2 separate regions of the Homo sapiens genome follow, and region 2 is linked to region 1. Evidence: promoter capture Hi-C in 16 types of primary human blood cells and fetal thymus (Javierre and others, 2016). All regions are on one chromosome and are shown on one strand. The core of a region is centred on a gene start or on the middle of the fragment in contact, and the rest is flanking DNA. Distances in the headings are between cores, read along the strand shown.

Region 1 (7,791 bases), core at 3,425-5,924:
TACTTATCCACTTCTTCATCTGTCTTCACCAGTAAAATGTAAGATTCATGAGAGCAGGAATTTTTAAAGGTTTTGTTCACAACTATATTACTAGTGCTTAAAACAGTGACTGGTACATAAACGTTTCATTCTATTTAAGTCAACAGTGTGTGCCTGGGAATATTTATGCCAAAATATCAACAATTATCCTGAAATGACAGTGTTAACTAGAATCATAGCAGCATGACTCTTTTCATCATTCAGAATAAACCAGATTACACACTAAAAAGCCAGAAAATTACAGTGTTTTAGATAAGAAGTGTTTATTTCTTGCTCATTGGAAGTCTACTACAAGTCTGCATGACTTTCCAAGTAACTATCTTCCATGTGTGAACTCAGCAATTCATGCTGCTTTGATTTTACAATCCCTCAAAGTCAACATAGTCTTCTACAATTACCATTGCAAGAGAAGAGAGAACATTGAGAATTGTGCCCCAGCTCTTAAATACTTTTACCAAGAAGTGACATACCACTTACATTTCATTAGACAAAGCAAGGCACGAGGTATGCCTGACTTGAAGAGGGTGGGAATAACTGTTATTTCATGTGCCTGTAAGGAAAGAGAACTAGACATGGTGAGCAGCACTTATGGCTACCAAACCACTTAAGATATTCAAAAACTAAGAGTCAGCTTTGCTAAGGGACTGCATGTTGGCACCAGGAATGCTCGGTAATGTTATCACTAGCAGAAATGGGGAAGGCATGAAGTAGAGCAGATGCTTTAATAGTATTGTTTCATTATGACATGGCTGAGAAAAATAAAATCAACTACTGGCCCAGGCCACTGTGTGTATGGAGTTTGCATGTTCTCCCCACGTCTGCATGGGTTTTCTCCAGGTACTCCATTTTCCTCCCACATCTGAAAGATGTGGATGTTAGGTGAATTGGTGTGTTTAAACTGTCCCAGTCTAAGTGAGTGTGGGCATGTATGAGAGCACCCTGTGATGGAATGGTGTCCTGTCAAGGGCTAGTTCTCACCTTTTACCCTGAGATGCCACCTATGATCCTGAACTGGAATAAGTGGACAAATAATTATCTTACTTGTTGTTATTCATCTTTCTTAATGTATAGCTCACATTTATTTCAATGTTTACTATTACTAGTGGTTCCATCTTTATTTTGAAGTTTGGTGATGTTTTTGTGACCAGAAATGTGCCACAGGAACTTAATTGATTTATATCAATTTGTCTGTGGTAAAATTGGTTTTATTGTATGTTATTTTGTTTAAAATTATAGTTTCTAAGAACCTCTGGATGAAGATAAATGAGGATTTACTGCAAAACTGGTGTTGAGTATATATTTGTGAAAAAACAGTCTTGAATATAGTTCTAAAAATGCTCAAGAAACATACACATCATGAGATCCTTCAGTCACAGAAATAATAATCAAATTCCATCAAGACAACATGTTTTAAAAAAGAAAAGCAGAGGGGTAAGGTCATATCTTAGAAGTTACATATAGAAATCCAGAGGAGGAATGGCCTGGGAGATCAGAAGAGAACCAGGGGTTGTGCTCACTTCATCAGCACATATACAACAATTGGAATGATACAGAGAAGATTAGCATGGCCCCTGAACAAGGATGACATGCAAATTCATGAAGCGGTCCATAATAAGTTAAAAAAACAAAGAAGAAGAGAACCAGGGTAGGGTAGTGCAGTGCATAACTGTGAAAGACCAAGGCAGGAAACAGTTTTAGAAAAGTTAACTATATTATATATATATTAAATAATAGAAAAGAAAACCGATTTGGTAATTAGGAAGATATAAGTTATATCAAAAAATATGCTTTCAGTAGTTAGATGGGACAGAAGCCCAATCATAGTAAATGGATCAAAGAGTGAATACAAACAATATAACTTTAGGGTTTGCAAGACACTAGTTTAAGAAAGTGAGTCATGAAAGTAGAGTCAGCAGAAACAGTCCTAAATTGGCTTGGAGTTAATGGAGCATTGCAGTCTTATCCTGCCCTGCTCTCCTGTCTCCCACCATGGATATTTGGAGGTAGGAGGACACATACCATAAGTGTTTATGGGACAGGTGACACCAACTTTAAAATTTGCTATCTATTATTTATCAGAAATTACACTTGAGCTTCATTTCTCTCATTTCATCACCTTAGCAACCTGGAAAAGTAGGTATTTTAATTTCCATGTTATAGATAGGGTTGTTGGAGCTTAGAAGAAAATATCCCAGAATAAAGGCCTCAGAAGCAAAGTTTCTGTCTCTAACCTTCTGTTCCTCGTCTCTTGCCCCTCATTCTCCCACTATGCAAGCCATAGAAACTATAATTCCTCTTTCTCCAGGTGCAGTTATAGAAACCACAACCCCCTTTCCCCAAAGCCAGCCACAAACCCCAAAATATTACTCTAACCTTCTTCCTTTCCATGAAAGACCTGCCCATAAATAAATTCTTTGACTTGCATTGTTTGATAGTACGTCTTAAGACTCCCATTCTAGAAAGGGTCCTACCCCATACCCTGGAAGAAGGAATGCTGAACAATCAGGTCAAGAGGAATCTGAACAGACAGGCCTTGCTGAGTTTCTCCACACAGTCTGCTCTCATTAGGTCATATCCTTTTTGACCAATGAGAGTTCTTCAGGGTTTTTCATTCTTCATCGAACCCAAGTATAAAAATGGGTAGTCTTCCCTGCATCTTTGCATCTCCATTTGCAAGGTTCCCATGTCACATAAAACTTGGATTAAATAAATTTGTTATGCTTTTCTCTTGCTATTCTTTTTGTTATATGAGTGTTGGCTGTGACTGTTATGATGAGAAGAAAAGGTATCACCCCCTTTGTTCCCCATAAGGCACAGTATTTTGGAGATAGCAAGCTGTATGAGATGTATATAAATTTGAATTAAAATTACATGAGGCTGGGTGCCATGGCTCATGTCTATAATCCCAGCACTTTTGGGAGGCCGAGGCAGGCGGATCATTTGAGGCCAGGAGTTTGAGACCAGCCTGGGCAACATGATGAAACCCTGTCTCTACAAAAAATACAAAAATCAGCTGGGCGTGATGGTGCACGTCTCTAGTCCCAGCTACTTGGGAGACTGAGGAAGGAGGATCACTTGACCCCAGGAAGCGGAGGTTGCAGTGAATCGAGATCATGCCACTGTACTCCAACCTGGGTGATAGAGGGAGACTCTGTCTCAAACAAAACAAAACAAAACCAAAAAAAGTTACATGATTTAGTAAAGGACAGAGACTAATTTAAAACCTATATGTATCTTAGTCTCAAATCATTATATTCCCCGCGAATACACTGGGATTCTCAGTGCCTTCTATCCTTTCATCAGGATTTGAAAATATTTATTTAAGTAGAAAATGAATGGACACACAGATCCCTACATATTGTGCATAATTTTTTCCCTACAGGAATGTCCTTGTCATTTCTTTTTCTCCAAAGTATATAAAAGAAATGCAAATATTACATACCTCTTTAAAAAATAAACTATTACAAAACAGTCAAGAGATAACAATCTTCATCTTGCAGATACCAAATAGCCAGCAATTTATGTACCTAAAAATCCTGAAACAAACATACATCAAAATGGTTATTTATTTATTTTTGAGACGGAGTCTTGCTCTGTTGCCCAGACTGGAGTGCAGTGGCGCGATCTCGGCTCACTGCAACCTCCGCCTCCCGGGTTCAAGCAATTCCCCTGCCTCAGTCTCCAGCGTAGCTGGGACTACAGGCGCGTGCCACCACACCCGTTTTTGTTTTTTTTTGTTTTTTTTTTTTTGTATTTTTACTAGAGACGGGGTTTCACCATGTTAGCCAGGATGGTCTAGATCACCTGGCCTCGTGATCCGCCCGCCTCGGCCTCACAAAGTGCTGGGATTACAGGCGTGAGCCACCGCGCCCGGCCCCAAATGGTTATCTTTGAGAGCTCCTGTGAGATCTCATTTTCTTCATCTTGTTTCTTTTTAGTATTTTTCACATTTTCTACAAGAAATGCATTTTTCTTTTGTAATCACAATCCCCCCTACAACAAATATCATACAATTCCGTTTCACATATGTAACAGTAATAAACGTTTTAGAGATTAAGGCTTCACTCTCATCTGAACTACTGAGAAAATTTAGCAAGCGAATTTCCCCCTTGTCTTTAACTTACAAGAATTGCCCCAGTGTATTGTTCCTGTAGTCATGCTGCCTAAGTCGGCCAGAATTCTAGAGGGTCCCCATCCCTGAGCAAAAAACAAACAAACAAAAAACAAGAAAAAAGAAAGAAAGAAAAAGAAAAACCCATGCACAAGACCTGAGATCTCTGAATCTCAGTTGGGGACACTGGAGAAAGGAAAGGAACAGCACCGTGGATTGGCAACACATTTTATGTAGGTATAAAGATAGGCCTTGCTGGAGATTTGTCCCGGATCCTCCAGCTTATCTCCGGACGCTCCGGTTGCCTAGTTACGAGAACGAGCTACCTCGAGCTCCGCCTCCTTCTTATAGAGTACTCCCCTTTCTCTTTTCCTAGTCTCGCGCAGGGGCGGGTAGCCAGGACTCTTCAGCCACTCAGAGGCCTCTACCTCAGGACCTCAACCGATGATTGGGCGAGCGCAGTACGGGCGTTGCCTGGGGAACGCCTTCCGCGCCTCGAAGTAACGTCAGCACGTCGACGCGGGGCTTTTCTTTAGCCGGGTCCCGCTAACTCGGCTACGGTGTATCTGCGTCTTTGGTCAGGTTGTTCCTTGGCTAAGAGGGCAGTCGTCGCGGACCCACGCGGTTAGCAAGGCTTAGTGCTCGGGCCGGCCGCCTTCACTTCCCTCCCGGCTTTTCCTCCCGACTTATCCACTTTAGGGGCGTCTCGGAGTGCCGGAGGCCCCCGGGGAAGAGCGGGGTGCCGGTGTCCGCTCCGGGCTCGGATGGGAAGTGGTGGGAGGAGCGACCCGGGATGTTCAGTCTGATGGCCAGTTGCTGCGGCTGGTTCAAGCGGTGGCGGGAGCCTGTCAGGTAGGCTGGAGCCAGCTGTCCTGGCCGTCCTAGGGGTTGGAGATGGCTGCGCCCCAGGGGCGAGGCGCCGCCTTTTCCCCGCGCCTGGACGAGTCTATCCCAGGCCGCAAGGGATGCTTTCATTCCCAGGGTGTCCCGGGAGGGAGAGATTGGAGGATGTAGCCTTGTTGTCTGGTCGACTTTCTGTTGCGATTGACAATGCTTACCGTTGTTATATTTTAAATAGGTTTGAATTTGTTAAAAAGTGTGTGTGTGTGTGTGTGTGTGTGTGTGTGTGTGGAATTGAAAACTATCCATTGTGTGTTTTTCCTCTGAAGCTTTTGTAATGGAAATTCTTTTAAAAAGAGGGGGACATGGAATATAGTTTTCATAATATCCGCACATTCCATTCCAAGTCACACCTCCACACAGTTGTATTTGAGGACGTGGGCTTGAAATCTGGCTCCACTACTTAATAATTACATGACTCAACCATTTTGGCCCCACCTTTCTTAAATATTAAATGAGAGTGATAATACTCTGCTTTAGAAATATTGTATTCAATGAGAACAAGTGATAGTGTTTTCTTAACTGTAATGTAGCTTCCAATTTTTATACGGTCTCTAGTAAAACCTTTTAATTGAAAGGGTCCACTTTTTAACATTTCATTTTGAAATGCTGGAAGTATTAATAATTAGTACCTGTTACTTGATATTCATTCATTCAAAAAATATTTATTAAGACAATACCTTGTGCCAGGCACTGTCTTAGGAAATAATCAGTGAAATTGATGCTTTTGAAACTGAGGCCTAACCTATAAAGAGATCTTGTGTTTGTTACACAAATAATGTTGACTTCACATAGTTCTAGTCTGGAATTGGGCCAAGGGTAAGATAAAGCAAAGTTGTTTTTTTTTTTAAATTGTTAACATTTTAAGTATATTTGCCATGAGAATGAACTATCCTTTAAAGAATGAATCTGAAAAGCTACACTTACACATTATAACAGAAAATACATGTCTAGATTGGAAAAAAAGTAACTTTAAATGAAACTAGAGATTCTTCCCCATTATTAGCTCCTAACTGAATTTGAATGTTTTAAATATAAGTAGTAAGATCAACTCTGTAAGTCAAAGATGGGCTGGGTGTGGTGGCTCACGCCTGTAATCCCAGCACTTTGGGAGGCCGAAGCTGGCCGATCTTTGGAGCCCTGGAGTTCGAGACCAGCCTGGTCAATATGGCGAAACCCCGTTTCTACAATAAAATAAACGGGCACGGTGACGCACGCCTGTAGTCCAAGCTACTTCGGAGGCTGAATCAGTAGGATCACTTGAGCCTGGGAGGCGGAGGTTGCAGTGAGCCGATATCGCTGCACTCCCTGAGTGACACAGTGCAACCCTGTCTCAAAAAAAAAAAAAAAAAAAAAAAAGAAAAAAGTCAAAGAGTTGTTTTAGGTGCATAGATTCTGATTTATTTGCTTTAATTATATTCTGGTCTAATTTCACAGTATCTACTAAGACTTGAGGGTCATTCATAATAGTTGACCCCTCATTTTCCTCCGTGTCTGCTTTTAAGAAATGTATTTGGTTTCTGTGAAGGCATGTATATAACTTACGTTCTTTTAACGAGAAACAGTGAAAACGTGTAATTCGAAGAAGGAGTGTTCAATTTAATTCATCATTCTTAGTCTTTCCTTTTCTTAGCAGCTTTTGTATATATACTCTCTGGAATGATTTGTTTAAAGAGAAGAGTTCAGAGAAAGGAGAATGTATTGATTTCCAAGTAGAACAGATAATTGAATTTTCTTAATAAAGCATTATTAAAATTTAGCTGCATAACCCAGAGTGTATTTTCTTCTTTAATAAGCACCATCTAGATTTGTCCTGTCCAGTAGGGTAACAACGAGCTACACGTGGCTGTTGAGCACTTGAAATGTGGCTAGTCTGAATTAAGATGCTGTAAGTGTATGTTTAATACATAGTGGGCTTTGAAAAAAGATTTATTATGCAAAAAAGTCAGCATCTTATCAGTCTTTTAAAAGTATGATTACATGTTGAAATGATAACTTTTGCATATGCTAGGTTAAATAATATATTAGAATTAACTTTTTTTTACTTTTTAAAAAATGAGATTACTAGAGAATTTCAATGTATATGTTGCTTATGTTAACATTTCTGTTGGATCTTACTGCTCTGGATCATAGCCTAATATAAAGGACATAGGTAAACATCTCAATTTGGATAACTGTCAAAGAATTTGAACACAAGTTGGATTACCCCTGTCTTCTAAGTCCCCTTGTTCAATGCCTGATTTATAATAGTGGCTGAATAAATATTTGCCAAATATTGTATGTAGTTCGATTTTTCTTAGTAATAATCATCCTGAAGTAAATAACATTAGCAAGTAGTTCCATTTATTTTACTGGAATAAATGAGAGGTGAGCAAGCTAATTTTAAAAACAAAATTTTGTGCTTTTATGGTGTTCTCTATTTTTTCAACAGAAATTGCCTGTTTGATTATTATGTATATATTTGTTTTCTGTAGAATTTCTTATTAAGATTCCTCTTCATGTTTATATTTTATGAAGATGAAATGTGAGGAGTGAATTTGTAAAAGAGATGATGATGGTTATTAATATACTATATTTGAGATTACTTTGCAGATTTGTTTAATACATTCTGTACCCCAGTACCCATTGTATTTGTTCACCTCTCCTCACTTAGATCCTTTCCTAGTGAGCATATTATTCCAGACATTGGAATCAGGGATTAGATTTGTGTGATAAGGACAAGGCAGGAGTCAGAGATCAAG
Region 2 (7,791 bases), core at 2,631-5,130, 79 kb before region 1:
CTTTCGATCTTTGTCTTTAATACTTCCTTTGCAAATTTTCGTCCTAAACACAAACTCTTTCTTCAAGAACCAATATATATTTCTTTAATTAACAGTCAGGTATATTATCTCCCATGAATTATGTCTGAAAATTATTTTTATTTGAAGTCAGAAATAGGTGTAAGAATTAATGTACCAATAAACAGCACCTCATTCATTCACTCATTCATTTATTAAGCAAAAGTTTTCTGAGCAAGAATGTGCTATCTAGATAGTAAAGGGAATACTGGAAAACATGAAGGAAATAAATATAAATTCAGATCTCATAGTCTCCAAGGAATTTACAAGAACATTATTTAAAGTCATCACATATGGTATCAAGTATTTTTTTTCTACGAGTGAAAACAAACATTAAAATGAAAAGCTTTTAACATACAAATTATTGAACACATATGAGGATATTTTGAGGAGAATTACGTACATAGCACTATATTAAATATAGGCCCAGAAATAACATTTTATTTCCCCTTAAAACTTTAATAAATCTATTTCAAGGCAGACGGTGATATGTAACTACACCAAATACAGAAATAATAAAGGACTAAATTACAAAATAGATGTTCACACAGCATGGCATTTCAATTAAGTAGTAACGTACCAAAATTACAACAAATGCCAACTAGCTTATTACCAAGTAGGTTGCATATTATTGAATGTGACATTTTTCTGGACATATACAGCTTTGTTTTGGCAACAGCTATAGAGGTATGTATGTATACTTAGTTAAATCATTATTTAGGCATTTTTTATGGTCTGCCTCATAATAATATATAATTTTACCTTCACTTGTCAAAAAAAGATGCAGGAAAAAAAGAGCTCAGATGGTGACATTTATTTCAATGAAGTAAAAATGAGCACCTACCCCCAATATTCAATTCCTGGGTCAATTATGCATTAAATCTAAGTAATTAAAAGCAAGTTTGAGAGACACAGATTAAGAAATCAACCTCTCTGAATTATGATATACTTAAACCCCACTAAATCCTAGAAATGGTTAAAAGGGTACATTAAAACTGCACTTGTACCCTCTGAAATTTTATGAGCACTTTATAAACCCTATAACGCCTAAGGCATGATCAAACTAGTCAGAGTGGAATCCAGAAAAGTAGACACTGGAAAATGTTTTCACTGAAGTTTCTATGAGAGATTTTTTTTCACAATGAGGGCTATTAAACTCAGCTTTTCTTGATTTCTTAAGTAAACATACAAGTTGTATTTTATAAATGTACAGACTACAGATAAGTACTCTCTAAACTGTGACTCTACCCTCTTTTTTTTAAACCCAGCCACTAATTATCCCCAATGTTTATGACTTACATGACCATAATTAGTAAATAATCATGACTCATAACCTGCTTAAAGCTACAGCAATTATTGCAGAACGTCTGTATTTTCCTGACTTAGCTATGTGAAAATAAGTATCTAGGATCTCTCATTTTAGAAAACAGGTGAGAAGTTAAGCATTGTAAAATGTTTACCTCACAACTCTTCTGATCTTGGGCAAGTTTGAATCCTTTCTTCCCATCACAATAGCAAGTGTAACCTCCAGGGTAATTGACACAAAGCTGAGCACACATGTTCTCAGAGCATTCATCTATATCTGAGGTAAAAAAAACACACGCACACAAACTTTAATATCCCCTAAATGTTCAATCTTATAGGCAGAGGAATATTATGATTGTAGTATGATATAATCAATGATAATCGAACCTTAGGGAAAGAAATACTATGACATCAAACTACATTTAAACATAATACTGAACATGGAAATTTAAACGAGTTACAAGTATAGTTTTTATTTACATATTTGAAACAAAAATTAATTTATAACTTTCAGTGATTAAGTAAAGTATAACAATTCTACCAAATTTCTCATTTTGAATTTGAAGAAAAAAAAGATTGAGAATCTCAACTTAACTGTCATTTCTGATCATTTGAATTTCATTGAGATTACCTCACAATTCATTGCTTTGAAAAAAAGAAAAAAGAAATGAGAAGGGAAAGAGGAAGGGAGAGCATGATGGGGAAGTAAAGGAAAGGAAAGTTAGGGAAGGGAAGGGAAGAAAAGACCCCTTTAACTGAAGGTTGATACAATCAGGAATTAAATGACAATATCAAGAACATTGGAACACTCATAATGCGATAATTAATGTTGGCAGTGAATTTAGGGAAATATCTGTTTTTTTTTTTTTAAAAAACCTCACTGTGATGTAATCTCCCATATTATGAAATCTTCTATATGGTCCCTGTCCCTACTCCATATTTTGAGAAAATCATTCTTGGAAATTTATAATATTATGTTGAAGCAAACATCTATCTCAGAGTTATATAAGATCATTGACATTTTCATTGGATATGCCCTATGACCTTTAAAACTCCACAAGCTCATAAATGCTATTATTGAATATGTTCTCATAAAATAATTTAAAATAGATTCCCAAAATTAATAATCCTTAGTATTAAAATTGCATATTATTAAAGTTATAGATAAGAGTCATATATAAATCTTTTTAAAAAATATGTCATTCATTAAATAAAACTACAATACAAGTGATGAAGTTGGCTAATGATAATTCCGCAGACATCTAGAGTTTTCCACGGTAATTTCTATCTGCAATGGTGAGAAAGGAGAAATGTGTTGCGGGGGCTGGCAGGGGAATATTTTTGGTGATTGCAAAAGGAGATGATAGGACATCAAAATCTCAAAAGCAGCATACGTAGTTAAAAAATATATTGTAAAATTATTATTGATTTAGGCAACTTCATAGAGACAGAAAACAAGATTAGAGGTTACCGCCATCAAGGTAACTAATAAAAGAAAACTCACTGCTTAATGGTTACTGCTTAAGAGTTTCTGTTGGGGCTGATGAAAAAGTTTTGGAAATAGCAGTGATGGCTGCATAATGGCATGAATGTAATTAATGCCACTGAACTGTACATTTAAAAATGGTTAAAAGAGTACATTAAAACTGTACTTGTAGCCCCTAAATCTATTTTTTAAAAGGTACATTATACATGTGTGTGAATATACATACATACATATATATATACAGATACAATAGAAAAATTAGTGTTGATTAGTTCCAGCCATGGCAGTAAATCTGTTTTAAAATTTTAAAAAATCGAAAGGAAGGTATGAGATAATCTGTATATCATAATAAACAAACCTACAAACAAACAACTATAATATGTTGAAGCTTCCTGATGCACACAGGGCAGCGCCACTGCAGTCACATGAAGTAACAGCACCTTTAAGGGGTTGCCCCAAACCCACAGGCTCTGACATTACCGATCAGTATTTCTTAAATTTCTAGAGTATTGTTATCATTTCTTTATCATGAGATAATAGAACTGTGTCATTTTTTATTTTAGAATAAATGATTTATTTATATATGCACAGAAAAATCACTGAAAAGCTTGGAATAAAAACTAAAGTTTTAACCATGCTCATTGTCTCAATAAGATGATTTTTAAGCTTGTGTCTTTCTTTTCTATCTACTGTTTTTCCTTCCAAAGTGAAATTCTCTTTATCTTTGAATATGATATAAATGATGTGAAAATATGTTTATCTTGTTTTTACCACACATGGAGGTCTCCAATTCATAGGTAGCTCAAAGGGCCAACTGGCGTGCCTAACACCAAACTTAAAGACCATATGCCTTACATACTCTTGCTCTGGAAGGAAGGAAGCCAATGATTACCCAATTGAACAAGCTATATTAGGGATAAGAAAATATGACTGTTGATGTCAAACAAAGCCAATGCTTTTAAATATCAGTTCAGGGTTCACACCCACCCTCTCCACCATCAGTAATGATACCACCATCATCCTACCTTCACAAGACTTTGATTTGAGATTATATCTGTAGCCTTCGGGGCATTCACATTCAAAATCTCCTGGGATGTTCTTGCACACAGCTGTGCCACAAATGCTTGGCTTCAAAGAGCATTCATCCACATCTATAAATAAAATCACTATATTAAAAAACATTTTTCCCATACCAGCAGACACTACCAAAGAACCCTTGATTTGTGTTTCCTGGATCTTGTTTAATATATGTAATGAGATAACAGATTGGCCTTTGGACCAAAAAACATTAAATCTATCATCATATGTTAGCTCACTAAATATGATTTCTTTCTACAAATGCAGAGGGAAATTTGATTGATGTTTGCCATGTTCCTTTCTAGTTATGTTAAGAAGGAGAAAGCTTTAGAAATTTTCTTATCTGCCAGGTTGTGGTGCGAAAATAAATGGAGGTCTTGAAAACAGATTCACTCCATATTATCACAAGTATTTTTTGTACATGGGAAGGCTCATCTCTTCTATCTTGTTTCTTTGGAAATGAACAAACATCTAATTAGTACACTACTATTGTTGTCTAAAGTAGACAATAGTGATTCAAATTTAAAATAAGATTAAGGTCTCTAAGTACTTATAAATCTGCAGTTAATCCAATATGAATTTAGTGCTAAATGAATATTCCAGAAATTTCAGATGCATATATTATATTGCCAAATGAAGAAGGAGATAACATATTGTTAGCAATTAGTTACTAGATGAGCACCTGTGAAGAAAACAAAACATGTGACAGAAATAGTTCAATGGAGACGGAATTATTAGTGAACTATTCTGTGTACTCTCTGGAGAAAGACAAATTCAGAACAGAAAATATGTTTTCTATTCTAAAAGTTGACAGCTTTTTTTCCAGATTAATAGTCAAAATTTAGGATATTATTTAAAATAACTTGCACAAAAATAATAAAACCAGTTCCCTTGTAGGAATTTTTCTATATTTTGACTGTATCATTGTCAATGTCTTGAGTGTGAAATTGTACTATCATTTTGTAAACTCTTACCACTAAGGGAAAATGGGGTAAAGGGTATATAGCATCTCTCTGTATTACTTCTTACAACTTCATGTGAATCTTTAATTAATTCAAAGTAAAATATCCGATTTTTAAAAAGAGCTAAAAACTCTATGTTTTTGAAATAAAGTAAGCCTGAGCAACAGTGGGACACTGTCTCTACAAAGTTTTTTTTCTTAATTTAGCCAGGAGTGGCCGGGCACAGCAGCAGTGCTGTAATCCTAGCACTTTGGGGGTCAAAGTGTTCGAGACCAGCCTGAGCAACATGGTGGAACCCCACTTCTACATATTAAAAACAAAAAAGGAAAAGAGAAAAAAATTAGCCAGGAGTGGTGGCATGTGTTCTTGTTACTAAGGAGGATAAGGCAAGAGGATCACTTGAACCCAGAAGCTGGGGTGCCTTGAACTATGATTGCACCACTCCACTCCATCCTGGGCAACAGAGGGAGACCCTGTCACTAAATAAATAAATAATAAAATAAAATAAAATCAGTAAAAATATGTCAATAAGTGTATTTGGTTTGAGGCATATTGCAGGGAATTATTTAGATCATACAAGTTTAAGTTACAGTACATTGGTTTTATGACTCCAAACTGACATCTAATGTCTGACTGAAAGGTTGTATTCTTTCAGCTGGGCACAGTGGCCCATGTCTGTAATCCCAGCACTTTGGAAGGCCAAGGTGGGCAGATCACTTGAGCTCAGGCGTTCAAGACCAGCCTGGTCAACATGGCAAAACCCCGTCTTTACCAAAAAATACAAAATTGGACAGGCGTGGTGGCATGCGTCTGTAGTCCCAGCTACTCGGGAGGCTGAGGCAGGAGAATCACTTGAACCCGGGAAACAGAGGTTGCAGTGAGCCGAGCTCACACTACATTCCAGCCTGGGCATCATAGCGAGACTCTGTCTCAAAAAAAAAAAAGAAGAAGAAGAAGAAAAGAAAAGTTAAGCTTTATTCTTTCATCTTTAGACAGTTACTGGCAACTGGATCCCAACCATTTCTACATCTTGGCAAAGGTCTCATTGTAATAGTGTTTTTTGTGGTTTTGGTTTGTTTGTTTGTTTGTTTGTTTTGAGACAGATCTGTTGTGATCTCAGCTCACTGCAAGCTCTGCCTCCCGGGTTCACGCTATTCTCCTGCCTCAGCCTCCGGAGTAGCTGGGACTACAGGCACCCGCCACCACCCTGGTTAATTTTCTGTATTTTTAGTAGAGACGGGGTTTCAGCGTGTTAGCCAGGATGATCTCGATCTCCTGACCTGTTGTTGATCCACCCACCTCGGCCTCCCAAAGTGCTGGGATTACAAGCATGAGCCACAGTGCCTGGCTGTAACAGTTTTTTATATATTCTTCTATCTGTTTTATACGTTATTACTTACATATCATGACTAAACAATAATGCAAATGAATATAAGAACAGATGTGGTCATCAGGAACATTCCTATTAATAAGAGCACTTTTGTAATCATTTACACATATATATGTGTATTAACTGAGTGGATAAGAATTAAATACTTTTTAATTTTTAAAAAGTCACAAATTTGGCCAGGTGTGGTGGCTCATGCCTGTAATCCCACGACCTTGTGAGGTTGAAGTGGATGGATCACTTCAACCCAAGAATTTGAGACCAGCCTGGACAGTATGACAAAACTCCATCTGTCTCTGTACAAAAGCTACAAACATTAGCCAGGCATGGTGGTGCACACCTGTAGTCCCAGCTACTTGGGAGGCTGAGGTGGGAGGATCTCCCAGGAGGTTGAGGCTGTATTGAGTTGAGATCGTTCCACTGCACTCCAGCCTAGGTGACAGAGCAAAACCCTATCTATCTTAAAAAAACAATAAAAACACAAATTCTTTAGAAAGAGACTATTAAAGTATTTAAGCGTAGAAGTAAGAATGGGTACTATTTGTTTACAAAATGCATATGGTATCCAGCATTGTGATGGTTTTTCTATCACTCATGTCCTAATGACAGTCTTTTTTTTTTTAATTATACTCTAAGTTCTAGGGTACATGTGCACATTGTGCAGGTTAGTTACATATGTATACATGTGCCATGCTGGCACGCTGCACCCACTAACTCGTCATCTAGCATTAGGTATATCTCCCAATGCTATCCCTTCCCCCTCCCCCCACCCTACAACAGTCCCCAGAGTGTGATATTCCCCTTCCTGTGTCCATGTGATCTCATTGTTCAATTCCCACCTATGAGTGAGAATATGCGGTGTTTGGTTTTTTGTTCTTGCGATAGTTTACTGAGAATGATGATTTCCAATTTCATCCATGTCCCTACAAAGGACATGAACTCATCATTTTTTATGGCTGCTTAGTATTCCATGGTGTATATGTGCCACATTTTCTTAATCCAGTCTATCATTGTTGGACATTTGGGTTGGTTCCAAGTCTCTGCTATTGTGAATAATGCCGCAATAAACATACGTGTGCATGTGTCTTTATAGCAGCATGATTTATAGTCCTTTGGGTATATATTCTAAGTAGTCTCAAAATCCAAACTCAAACAGACCTTCAAATAGGCAGATAAGAAAGATACATGATCACAAATTGGATAACTGTTTAGAAGAATTTGTTGTTAATGTAGTTCACTTTAGAGTCATTTAACTGCAGTTTAAATAATATTATAGTACATTTTATCATACTAAACACTGCTATTCAGTAAGAGATGGATGATTTGAACATGAATCCAATTTAGGGCTTTACCAAAATATATATAAAATAAAGAGTCGAACAAGAAATTCACATTTTAACTTACTTTTTTTTTTAACATTTTAGCAAAACAAGCAAACAAAAAGTACTGGAGGAGAGAACTTGGATATTATATTGTATCCAGTTTCTAAAGGCAAATTTTAAGTCCAGGTGGGAAAT

Evidence for each region. Contacts are between HindIII fragments. The CHiCAGO score rates a contact against its expected background, and 5 or more counts as called.
Region 2: a contact is called between a fragment that was not itself captured here and the fragment with the promoter of ARL13B in region 1, in 1 of 17 cell types (megakaryocytes). The highest score is 5.3, in megakaryocytes.

What each region holds. Positions count from the first base shown.
Region 1 is chr3:93,975,481-93,983,271 of GRCh38, forward strand. It overlaps ARL13B (ARF like GTPase 13B), which reads left to right and starts at 4,675. Exons shown (of 10, transcript NM_001174150.2): 1 at 4,675-5,002. The coding sequence starts at 4,944. It also overlaps the pseudogene RNU6-511P. RefSeq lists enhancers at 4,283-4,442, 4,713-4,842. The HindIII fragment of the contact is 5,745 bases long and covers 1-5,317 here.
Region 2 is chr3:93,896,931-93,904,721 of GRCh38, forward strand. It overlaps PROS1 (protein S), which reads right to left. Exons shown (of 15, transcript NM_000313.4): 7 at 3,874-3,999; 8 at 1,518-1,639. Among named protein-coding and RNA genes, the nearest start is that of PROS1, 73 kb to the right of the region's middle. The HindIII fragment of the contact is 736 bases long and covers 3,513-4,248 here.